Linked DNA regions of Homo sapiens: regions 2, 3 and 4 are each linked to region 1. Evidence: promoter capture Hi-C in 16 types of primary human blood cells and fetal thymus (Javierre and others, 2016). All regions are on one chromosome and are shown on one strand. Each heading gives the region's core, a stretch centred on a gene start or on the middle of the fragment in contact. The rest is flanking DNA. Distances are from core to core; before and after follow the strand shown.

Evidence for each region. Contacts are between HindIII fragments. The CHiCAGO score rates a contact against its expected background, and 5 or more counts as called.
Region 2: a contact is called between a fragment that was not itself captured here and the fragment with the promoter of ZNF470 in region 1, in 1 of 17 cell types (total CD4 T cells). The highest score is 9.7, in total CD4 T cells.
Region 3: a contact is called between a fragment that was not itself captured here and the fragment with the promoter of ZNF470 in region 1, in 8 of 17 cell types (non-activated CD4 T cells, activated CD4 T cells, total CD8 T cells and 5 more). The highest score is 14.1, in non-activated CD4 T cells.
Region 4: a contact is called between a fragment that was not itself captured here and the fragment with the promoter of ZNF470 in region 1, in 1 of 17 cell types (non-activated CD4 T cells). The highest score is 6.0, in non-activated CD4 T cells.

Annotation. Positions count from the first base shown.
Region 1 is chr19:56,565,893-56,568,717 of GRCh38, reverse strand. It overlaps ZNF470 (zinc finger protein 470), which reads right to left and starts at 1,250. Exons shown (of 6, transcript NM_001001668.4): 1 at 680-1,250. It overlaps ZNF470-DT (ZNF470 divergent transcript), which reads left to right and starts at 697. Exons shown (of 2, transcript XM_047439806.1): 1 at 697-1,645. The coding sequence starts at 697. The coding sequence ends at 1,635. RefSeq lists enhancers at 811-920, 1,301-1,510, 1,521-1,570. The HindIII fragment of the contact is 7,993 bases long and covers 1-2,825 here.
Region 2 is chr19:37,191,287-37,194,111 of GRCh38, reverse strand. All of the region lies in intron 2 of ZNF585B (zinc finger protein 585B), which reads left to right. Among named protein-coding and RNA genes, the nearest start is that of ZNF585B, 18 kb to the left of the region's middle. The HindIII fragment of the contact is 4,429 bases long and covers 1-2,825 here.
Region 3 is chr19:37,215,998-37,218,822 of GRCh38, reverse strand. ZNF383 (zinc finger protein 383) reads right to left here and starts at 609. Exons shown (of 6, transcript NM_001387601.1): 1 at 549-609. RefSeq lists an enhancer at 494-983. The HindIII fragment of the contact is 190 bases long and covers 1,299-1,488 here.
Region 4 is chr19:37,697,391-37,700,215 of GRCh38, reverse strand. It overlaps ZNF607 (zinc finger protein 607), which reads left to right. Exons shown (of 5, transcript NM_032689.5): 5 at 321-2,825. The coding sequence ends at 2,176. Among named protein-coding and RNA genes, the nearest start is that of ZNF607, 21 kb to the left of the region's middle. The HindIII fragment of the contact is 1,344 bases long and covers 701-2,044 here.

The DNA of each region.
Region 1 (2,825 bases), core at 1-2,500:
TGAAGTTTGGTGCTGATACTCCCAAAAGGTCTTAGAACTGTGTCTGGCACATAATAAACACTCATTAAACATTAGCTATTACTATAGCATGCAGGAAACTAAACAAGCACAGAACAATATGGCTAAAAATAGCCCTTCCTCCCCCTTTCTCTTTATTGGAGTGGGAGGCCAGAGGGGAGGGAGAGAAGCCCAAGGAATGGGGATATCTTCCGTTATTGACTAGAACGTGATTAAGCCATAGAAAGGCTGGAATGCCTCGGCATTTCTGGGTGAAGCTGTGAATCTCGCCTTCTTCCCAAATCCTACAGTGATAGATGGGACAAGGCTCTGACGGGTAAAAATCTAAATGCTGAGCTATTCCTTCAACAGCAGCAGAGTACCCAGAAGTAATGCTATAATGGGTAATATTACGGGTAGTGTTCTCTCCCATGGGCCCTTAGTGATATACCAAGGACCTGAGTCAGGTTATCTGGTTAGGTGTCTCTGGCCAAGTCAAGGTCCCTCCCTAACTAAACCCAGCTCCACTCTGACCCAAGGTGACCCTCCAAATCTTTCGACTTCCAGGTCCACTAGCCTTAGAAACGGGGGACATCCTCCTCCAGCACCTGAACCCCGAAAGACAGCACCCAAAACCTCAATGTCCACTCCGGCAGCCACATCCGTCATCTGTCACTCTTACCTGTGTACTCAGTCCCCATGGTCTTCGCTCCTCGCCGTCCTGTGGACATGGAGCCCTGTCCTGGGCTCTGCCCCTTCCAGATAGGGCTGACAGGAAATGCTTCAGCCGAGGCTGCCCCGCCCGGGCAACTTCCCCGGGCTCTAGGACTTTGCCCACACTGGGCTCTACGCAGTCGATACAGGGGAGAACGGGGTAAGCCTCCTCCGGCCGGGTTTCCTGCTCTTGGCCACTTAAAGTGCTTCACTCATTCCAACACACACCGCCTTCCGCACGCCGCCGGGCCATGCACGCAGGCGCAGATTCGCGGCCACGCACCGGACAGTCACACACCGGGCCGCCATCCCCGCGCGCGCTCGCCCCTCCTCAGCACAGCACCGCACGCTCACCACGTATGGGCACTCACAGCCACCAGGCCACACGCGCACGCTCACGCCCGCCGCCCACACAGGAACCAGGACACCGCCCCCGCCGCGCCCCAGTCCAGCCTCGGCCGCTGCCCCGCCCAGACCTCCCTTCTCCTCAGCAACCGGCGGGACGTGCACTCGCCCGGCTTTGGGTCCTTTCCGGAAGTGGGCGTGTCCTCCGCTGCAATAGCCCCTGGGAAGTGTAGTCCGGAACGGAGGCGGCGTTCAGAAATAGGGCGCTGGCTTTGCCAGGAGCGGCTCCTCTCCAAGCCTGGCGGTCACTGCCCTGTGTCCCCTTTTGGGCCTCTCCTGGTCCTCCTGGTTGGATTAGGAGGCCTCTCAGCCCGGAGTCTGGGTCGCCGAAGTACAGGCCCCTTCACTGAAGCGACCCACGGCGCAGGGGTTTCTGGAAGCCATCGCCAGGCTCCGAGTGTTCAGATGCAGCTGCCAGGCTCAGGACGCAGAGAACTGGCTTCCAGCTCGCAGGAGCGCCTGTCCGTGGTGGGTAGGGTCGCAGGCGTGGGGTGTGCAGGAGCAGTGGGACAGCACTGAAACGCAGTCGGTAAGGCGTAGCGGCTACCCTCTGGAGAGGAAAACCATGACAGGGCGGGGCTTGGGGCGCGGGCGGGGCCTACGCGATAGAAAAGTGAGGAGATTGGGATTTGTCTGCTTTGCACACTTGTGACTTTCTGATGGTGCGCGTGTGGAACCTGTTTTATTTCATGCCTACTAGTTACTGCTCTCTGATATACGGTACGCCCCTCACCTCCCCCCACCCCATTTTATCTCTCCCTGCTGGAAGGAGGGTTCCAAGAAGGCACACAGCTTCCGTCCTGTTCAGGGTTATATTCTCAGTGACTAAAACAGCACATAGTAGGTGCTTAGTTTTTTATTTTTATTTTATTTTTTAGGAAATCACGAAATCTAGCATTGCCAGTCTCACCATGACACAACATGTTATAGGCTGAATATGTCCTCCCAAAATTACTATGGTGAAACCCTAACCCCTAGTGTGATGACGTTAGGAGGTGGGACTTTGGGGAGGTAACTGGTTTTAGATTAGGTCATAAGGGTGATACCCTTATGATGGGGTCAGTGCACTTATTAAAAAAGAGGAAGGAGGGGTCTCCATGTTTACACAACCACCAAGCAAAGGCCATGTGAGGACACAGCAGGATGTAACCCATTTGCAAGCCAACGGGGCCCTCACCAAGAACTGAATGTGCCAGCACTTTAACTTCCCAGCCTCCAGAATTGTGAAAAATAAAGTCTCTTAGTCAAGTCACTTAGTCTATGATATTTTGTTATAGCAGCCCCAGCTGACCAAGATACAGCATCATAGATACTGGCTCACCAGAAACTAACTCACCCTCCCAGTCACACTCAATCACCCAAGGCCACACAGTGACATCTAGACTGGACTCTCCTGGATCCAATTTATGTCAGACATCATAAACAACATAATAAAGCCAAGTCTAGCTGTGAAGATACTTTAACTATGAAACAGCAAATATCATCTTAGAGCTTGTAACGTTTGTGGTTATTTGAGTTGGATGAAAATGATAATATTCTCATTTTAGCTCTGGCATATAAAGAGCTCGGAAGCCTTCATTCCCATCTTCACAACAACAAAATCATTCAACAAACTGAAAATCAACTTTTCTTAGATCCATCAGAGAACTGAAGATAGAAAGGTAACTGACACCCCAAAATCCCGAGAAAGAAAAATACATAAAATTACA
Region 2 (2,825 bases), core at 120-2,619, about 19 Mb after region 1:
TTTCATCTGAAACCACCTTCCTACACAGCTCCTGGATTATTTTAAAGTGAATCTCAAACACAATGTTTTATCTAAAAATACTTTGATATGTATCTCAAAGAGATGAATTCTTTTTTCTTTTGTTTAGCATAACAAATAAGTCAATATCACACCTACAACAAAATAACAGTAATTCTTTGTTATCATCTAATACCCATTGCTTGCATTTCTCTAAATTGTTGTAAATATCTTTTTAAGATTGGTTCATTTTAATTAGGGGCCAAAGTCCACAAGGTGCATTTGGTTAGTATGATTCGTAAGTCTCTTACTTTTTAAGTTTTATTTATTTTTTTGAGACAGGGTCTCCCTCTGTCACCCAGACTGGTGTGCAGTGGTGCATTAACGGCTCACTGGAGCTTCGACCTCCCGGGCTCAGTCGATCCTCCGACCTCAGCCTCCCGAGTAACTGGGACTACAGGTGCCTGCCACCAGGCATGGCTAATTTTTTTGGTATTTTTTTAGGGACAGGGTCTCACTGTGTTGCCTGGGCTGGTCTCAAACTCCTAGGCTCAAGCAATCCACCCACTTCGGCCTCCCAAAATACTGTGACTATAGGCGTGAGCCCCTGCCCTGGCCTTAGTTCTCTTTTTTTTTTTTTTTTTGAGACAGAGGCCTGCTCTGTCACCCAGGCTAGAGTGCAGTGGTGCAATCTCGGCCCACTGCAAGCTCTGCCTCCCGGGTTCACGCCATTCTCCTGCCTCAGCCTCCTGACTAGCTGGGACTACAGGCGCCCGCCACTGCGCCCAGCTAATTTTTTGTATTTTTAGTAGAGATGGTGTTTCACCATGTTAGCCAGGATGGTCTCAATCTTCTGATCTCATGATCTGCCCGCCTCGGCCTCCCAAAGTGCTGGGATTACAGGTGTGAGCCACCATGTCCAGCCCTATTTGCTGTTCTTTAAACTCATGTGGTGTTTTTTTTTGTTTTGTTTTGTTTTTAAGATGGAGTCTTGCACTGTCGCCCAGGCTGGAATGCAGTGGCGCAATCTCGGCTCACTGCAACCTCTGCCTCCTGGCTTCAAGCGATTCGCTTGCCTCAGTCTCCCAAGTAGCCGGGATTCCAGGCATGTGCCACTGTGCCCAGCTAATTTTTTGTATCTTTAGTAGAGAGGGGGTTTCAACATGTTGGCCAGGCTGGTCTCAAACTCCTGACCTCGTGATCCACCCACCTCGGCCTCCCCAGTTGTTGAGATAATAGGCGTGAGCCACTGTGCCCGGCCCTCATTGTGTATTTTAATATTTATTTATTTGTTTATTTATTTTTGAGATGGAGTCTCACTCTGTCACCCAGGCTGGAGTGCAGTGGCGTAATCTTGGGTCACTGCAACCTCCACCTCCCAGGTTCAAGCGATTCTCCTACCTCTGCCTTGGGTAGCTGGGATTACAGACACACACTACCACACCTGGCTAATTTTTTGTATTTTTAGTAGAGATGGGGTTTCACCATGTTGGCCAGGCTGGTCTCGAACTCCTGACCTTAGGTGATCCACCTGCCCCGGCCTCCCAAAGTGCTGGGATTACAGGCATGAGCCACTGCGCCCGGCCTTATTTTATTTTTTTTTTTTTTGAGACAGGTTCTCGCTCTGTCACTCAGGTTGGAGTGCGGTGATGCAATCGTGGCTCACTGGAGCCCATCTCCCCATCTTTTTGTTCTTGTCTTTGCTGGGCAATGTCCCCCTTACCCCATACTTTGTATTACTCTTCTTATCTTCCAAGTTAAATTCTTCCGCTCTATGAAATGTAAACTTATTTCCTCATGTAGAATGCACTTTTTCTTCTTTTTAGCCCTCAGGGTGTCTCAGATAGAGATCTACTTTTCAGCACCTTAATGAACTTAATGTCTTCACTTTTTCAAACTTTGGTCTTATTTATTTTCTATGTATTTCAGGTTGCGTGAAGACTAGTAACATAAATAATTCATTTCTGTGTCCTCAGGAGTAGCATAATGACTGGTCCTAAATTGATCAGCCACTGTGTGGCAGGTTGTTCATCCATGTGCTAGAAGACTAAAAGGCAGCCTATTTCTTTCTTTCTTTCTTTTTTTGAGATGGAGTCTTGCTCTGTATCCCGGGCTGGAATGCAGTGGCATGATCTCGGCTGACTGCAACCTCCGCCTCCCAGGTTCAAGCGATTCTCCTGCCTAAGCCTCCTGAGTAGCTGGGATTACAGGTGCTCGCCATGCCCGGCTAATTTTTTGTATTTTTAGTAGAGACAGGGTTTCACTATGTTGGCCACACTGGTCTTGAACGTCTGACCTCGTGATCCACCTACCTCGGCGTCCCAAAGTGATGGGATTACAGGCATGAGCCACCGGGCCCAGCCAAGACAGCCTATTTCAATGGCCAGTTTTGAAAAATGAGTGATTGACTGACTGTAGAACAGAACAAATAGCTGGAATTCTTTGTTAGATTTCTGTGTTCCACAAATTATGTAAAACTAGATTTTTTTTTTTTTTTTAGACAGAGTCTCCCTCTGTCGCTCAGGCTGGAGTGCCGTGGCATAATCTCAGCTCACTGCAAACTCCACCTCCCAAGTTCAAGTGATTCTCCCTCCTCAGCCTCCCAAATAGCTGGGACTACAGGCACGTGCCACCAGCCTGGCTAATTTTTTGTATTTTTAATAGAGACGGCATTTCACCATGTTGGCCAGGCTGGTCTCGAACTCCAAACCTCAGGTGATCTACCTACCTTGGCCTCCCAAAGTGCTTGGATTACAAGCATGAGCCACCGTGTCCGGCCCCCTCTGACATTCTTGCTTGGATTACAGGCGTGAGCCACTGCACCCCAG
Region 3 (2,825 bases), core at 144-2,643, about 19 Mb after region 1:
ACATATCACCCCGGCACGATTACACGCACTTTCCAACCGCAGACACAGTGCTACATAAAGTTACATGGTCACACTCTCACATTCTCACGTTACTGGGTTATTTCTGGGTAGTAGATTTACTCAGTAAGGCATCCAGTACACTTAAGTGCTGCTAACAGTCATACAAACACAATTACACACACCCCTCAGACTAACACACAGTCACAGCCTCATCAGATTCTCTCCACACAAACACCCTCCACAAATGTCACGCAAAGTTACACAGCCACACACAATCACAGTCCCAACACGGGACACAGTCATACCTACACATACAGCCTTACATTGTTACAATTACACAACTACAACGAGGATATACAATCACACCCGCGCACACAGAGAGGCACAGTCACATAAGGTCACACTCACACACGGAAGCCCACGCCTCGCGCCCGCCTCCCCACCACCCCCTCTATCAGCCCGACCAACTCATACATGCCCGACACACTCATACATGCCCAACACTCCAGACCAGCCTGGTCAGTCCCTTCAAACTCCCATGCACGTACCTGCGGGCCCCAGCCGAGCCTGCAAGACCCAGGCCGCTCACCGCGCACTTCCCCTACCCTTGAGGCGGAGGGTCCAGCAGGCAAATGAAGGGGCTGCCCTGGACTCGCGGGGGCCTCTGGGAAATACAGTCCGGAGTAGGACCGCGCCGAGAAGATGGCGCCTGTTTTTTCGGGTTCTTGCAGCTGCACAGCTCGGGGACATCCCTGCTCCGCACTCCGAACCGCTACCCCGCGTCTCCGTGATCCAGACACAGGCTCAGAGTGAAACTGCCGTAGGACGCTGGCCCTGCACGCTGAAGACAATCTTCCTCCATGGTACCGGCCAACCCCAGGGAGTTCCCTGAGAAACAGGAAAAGGTCGCCAGCTTCGGGCCAGATGTTGACTAGAGCCGCAAGGATTTTTGGGAACTGTAGTCTAGAGCAGGAAGGGGTGAGGCGCTGGGGCAAGTGGAAGGAGGTCGCTTAAATGACTTCCTGCCCCAAGCCGACTCAGTGCAGAACGCACCCAGGACCCCGGACTGTACTAGGCGTTATAACGCTCTCTGAGAATGCTAGACTGACTAAATCGTCATTTTTGCCTTCATCCGTGGATAAGCCACATACTGTATGACTGCATTTATAGGAAATATTTAAAATAGTCAAATCTACGGAAAAGGAGTAAGTTAGAGTTTTTTAGGACTAGCAGGATTAGGGGGAACTGTGAGTGATTGGTAATAGCTAAAGGGTTCATTTTTGGGGTAATGCAAAGCTTCTTGAATTAGATAATGATGTTTGCACAACTCTGAATACACTAAAAGTGACTGAATGGTACACCATAAACGAGCTAATGTTATAGTTTGTAAATTATATTTGTGTGCATGTTTTTTAAAAATCAACTTTACTGAAGAATAATTTAGATACAATAAAATGCACTCATTTTAAGTGAACTGTTCGGTAAGCTTCAACGCATGTCTAAACCCTTGTCACCACCATCGTAATCAGGATATAGAATATTTTTTAAAATTAAAAAATTTTTAAGCATTTTAGTTAAATTTTTGTGGGTACATAGTAGTTGTATATGGGGTACATGAGATGTTTTGATACAGGCATGCAATGCGTAAGAATCATATCATGTAAAATAGGGTGTCTATCCCCTCAAGCATTTATCCTTAGTGTTACTGGATATAGAATTTTTTTTTTTTTTTTTTTGAGTTGGAGTCTAGCTGTCACCCAGGCTGGACTGCAGTGGCGAGATCTCGGCTCACTGCAAGTTCCGCCTCCCGGGTTCAAGCGATTCTCCTGCCTCAGCCTTCCGAGTAGCTGGTATTACAGGTGCCCGCCACCATGCCTGGCTAATTTTTGTATTTTTAGTAGAGACAGGGTTCGAGCTCACAGGCTGGTCTCGAACTCCCGACCTCGAACTTCTGACTTCGTGATCCGCTCGCCTCGGCCTCCCAAAGTGCTGAGATTACAAGCGTGAGCCACCGCGCCCGGCGGATATAGAATATTTTTATTCACCGCCCTCTGCCCCCCACATTGTTAAGTCAATCCCCACCTCCCAAACCCCACATCAGGCATCTATTGACTATTCTAAGGAATGAGCAGTAGTATCAAATTATGTTTTTAATTTGCATTTCCTGATGTCAATGAACTTAGCATACTTTCATATACTTATTTGCCATTCTTTTATCTTCTTTTGTGACATCTATTGAAAATATTCGGCTGGGCGCAGTGGCTCACGCCTGTAATCCTAGCACTTTGGGAGGCTGAGGCGGGCAGATCACCTGAGGTTGGGAGTTCGAGACCACCCTGACCAACGTGGAGAAACACCGTCTCTACTAAAAATACGAAATTGGCCAGGCGTGGCGGTGCATGCCTGTAATCCCTGCAGGAGAATCACTTGAACCCGGGAGGCAGAGGTTGCTGTGAGCTGAGATCACACTGTTGCACTCCAGCTAGGGCAACAAGAGCAAAACTGCATCTCAAAAAATAATAATAAATAAATAAATAAATAAAATTTTCTTATTTTAAAATTGGTTATTATTGAGTTGTAACAATTCTTTATATGTTTGGGTAAAAGTCCTTTGCCAAATATACATATTGCAAATTGCAAATATTCTCTCCCTGCCTGGGGCTTACCTTCTCAGTTTTTTTTTTTTTTTTTTTTTGAGACAGGGTCTTGCTCTGTTGCCTAGTCTGGAGTGCAGTGGTGTTAACATAGCTCACCACAGCCTTGACCTCCTGGGTTTAGTCGATCCTCCTGAGTAGCTGGGACTGCAGGTGTGCACCACCACCCCC
Region 4 (2,825 bases), core at 123-2,622, about 19 Mb after region 1:
AGTTATGCACATATATTAATAAATCTGCATTAAATTGACAGCTAGAAATTGCCCTCAGTGGGAGTATTTACACCAGAGATCTTGGCAAACACTACAAAACAGGGCTCTGTGTGTGTGTGTGTCTCTTTGTGTATGTGTGCCTGTGTGTGTAAGGCTGCATTCCACTGCACAAACTCATTTTTTTAGCTCTCCTTTCATTTTTTATATTTTATAACTGTATTTTCGAGTTAGCATCTGTAATAGGTGAGAATTTCTCTTAATTCTACAATAACATTGACATTTTCTCATCCAATAAAATGTTTTTATTTTATGTCTTCTAGATTTGGATTCAAGATGTGAAATAATCAGCGATGGGAAAATGCAGCTTTATAGGAAACACTCATGTGTTACTCTCCATCAGAGAATTCATAATGGACAGAAACCATATGAGTGTAAGCAATGTCAGAAGTCCTTTAGTCATCTTACAGAACTCATGGTACATCAAACAATTCATACTAGTGAGGAACCTGATCAATGTGAAAAGTTTAGGAAGGCATTTAGCCATCTTACAGACCTTAGAAAGCATCAGAAAATTAATGCTCGTGAGAAACCTTATGAATGTGAAGAATGTGGGAAGGTCTTCAGTTATCCTGCAAACCTTGCTCAACATGGGAAAGTTCATGTTGAGAAACCCTATGAATGTAAAGAGTGTGGGGAAGCTTTTAGGACTAGCCGTCAACTTACTGTACATCATAGATTTCATTATGGTGAGAAACCCTACGAATGTAAGGAATGTGGCAAGGCCTTTAGTGTGTATGGACGACTTAGTCGACATCAGAGTATTCACACTGGTGAGAAGCCCTTTGAATGTAACAAATGTGGGAAGTCCTTTAGGCTCAAAGCAGGCCTTAAAGTACATCAGAGTATTCATACTGGAGAGAAGCCACATGAATGTAAGGAATGTGGAAAGGCCTTTCGTCAGTTTTCCCACCTTGTGGGTCATAAAAGAATTCATACTGGAGAAAAACCCTATGAATGCAAGGAATGCGGGAAGGGCTTTACATGTAGGTATCAACTTACCATGCATCAGAGAATTTATTCAGGGGAGAAACACTATGAATGTAAAGAAAATGGGGAGGCTTTTAGTAGTGGCCATCAACTTACTGCACCTCATACATTTGAAAGTGTTGAGAAACCTTATAAGTGTGAGGAATGTGGGAAAGCCTTTAGTGTGCATGGACGACTTACTCGACATCAGGGTATTCATAGTGGTAAGAAACCCTATGAATGTAACAAATGTGGGAAGTCCTTTAGGCTCAATTCATCCCTTAAAATACATCAAAATATTCATACCGGTGAGAAACCCTACAAATGTAAGGAATGTGGGAAGGCCTTCAGTCAGCGTGCACACCTTGCCCATCATAACAGAATTCATACTGGTTACAAACCCTTTGAATGTAAAGAATGTGGGAAGTCCTTTCGTTGTGCCTCATATCTTGTTATACATGAGAGAATTCATACAGGAGAGAAACCCTATGTATGTCAAGAGTGTGGGAAGGGTTTTAGTTATAGCCATAAACTCACTATACATCGCAGAGTTCATACTGGTGAGAAACCTTATGAATGTAAGGAATGTGGGAAGGCCTTTAGTGTATCTGGACAACTTACTCAGCATCTGAGTATTCACAGTGGTAAGAAACCCTTTGAATGCAACAAATGCGGGAAGTCTTTTAGGTTCATTTCTGTACTTAAAGCCCATCAGAATATTCATAGCGCTGAGAAACCCTACGAATGTAAGGAATGTGGCAAGGCCTTTCGTCATGCCACAAGCCTCATATATCATGACCGAACTCATGCTGGTGAAAAGTCCTATGAATGTAAAGAATGTGGGGAAACTTTTAGTCATGCTTCACATCTTATTATTCATGAGAGAATTCATACCAGTGATAAACCCTATGAATGTAAAAGATGTGGGAAGGCATTTCACTGTGCCTCATATCTTGTTAGACATGAAAGCGTTCATGCTGATGGAAATCCCTATATGTGTGAAGAGTGTGGGAAAGCTTTTAATAGTAGCCATGAACTTAGTATACATCATAGAGTTCATACTGGTGAGAAACCCTTTAAATGTAACAAATGCAGAAGGTCCTTTAGGCTTAGATCCATCCTTGAAGTACATCAGAGAATTCATATTTGATAGAGAAATTGTGGCATATACAGGTAGTAAAGAAAGCACATTGTGTCAATGGATTTATCCCACTGAACAATTTGAATGAAGACAATGTGGAATGGCTTTGAGATACAGTTCAGTTTTTATTAGGCATCAATTTGTATTGGTGTGAACTTTTCAAAATGTAAATCATATATGCAGTTTCTTTGGTATGACCTGTGTTAACTCAGATTCAGAGAATTTATAATGTATTTTTTTAATAACATAAGAAAACTTTTCTGATATTCCTCTAGTTTTGGATTGCCAAAATATTCACAGTAGAGGAAAACTGAGAAAACGTAGGAAACCATTCTTTATACTTGCATGTAAACATCTTCCAGCAACAATCATTTATTGTTAAACCTGGAAAAAGCCATTACACAGGAAACCTCTGTTGATATAAGCGATGATGGGAAAGGCTATTTAGCCACTCTGCATATTTAATGCTCATGATCAACATCTGCTTCCTATAGCTGGGATGATATGGGGGAAGATATTTATCCCTTCTGGGGATCATATATAAATGATGATAGTAGTACCTACAGTATAGTGCTGTTAGAATTACATGAGTTAGATGTGGAGGTCAGAGTGGAAGCAGGTGTGAGAGGGTCCCGCAGAAGAAAACATGGCTGCCAAA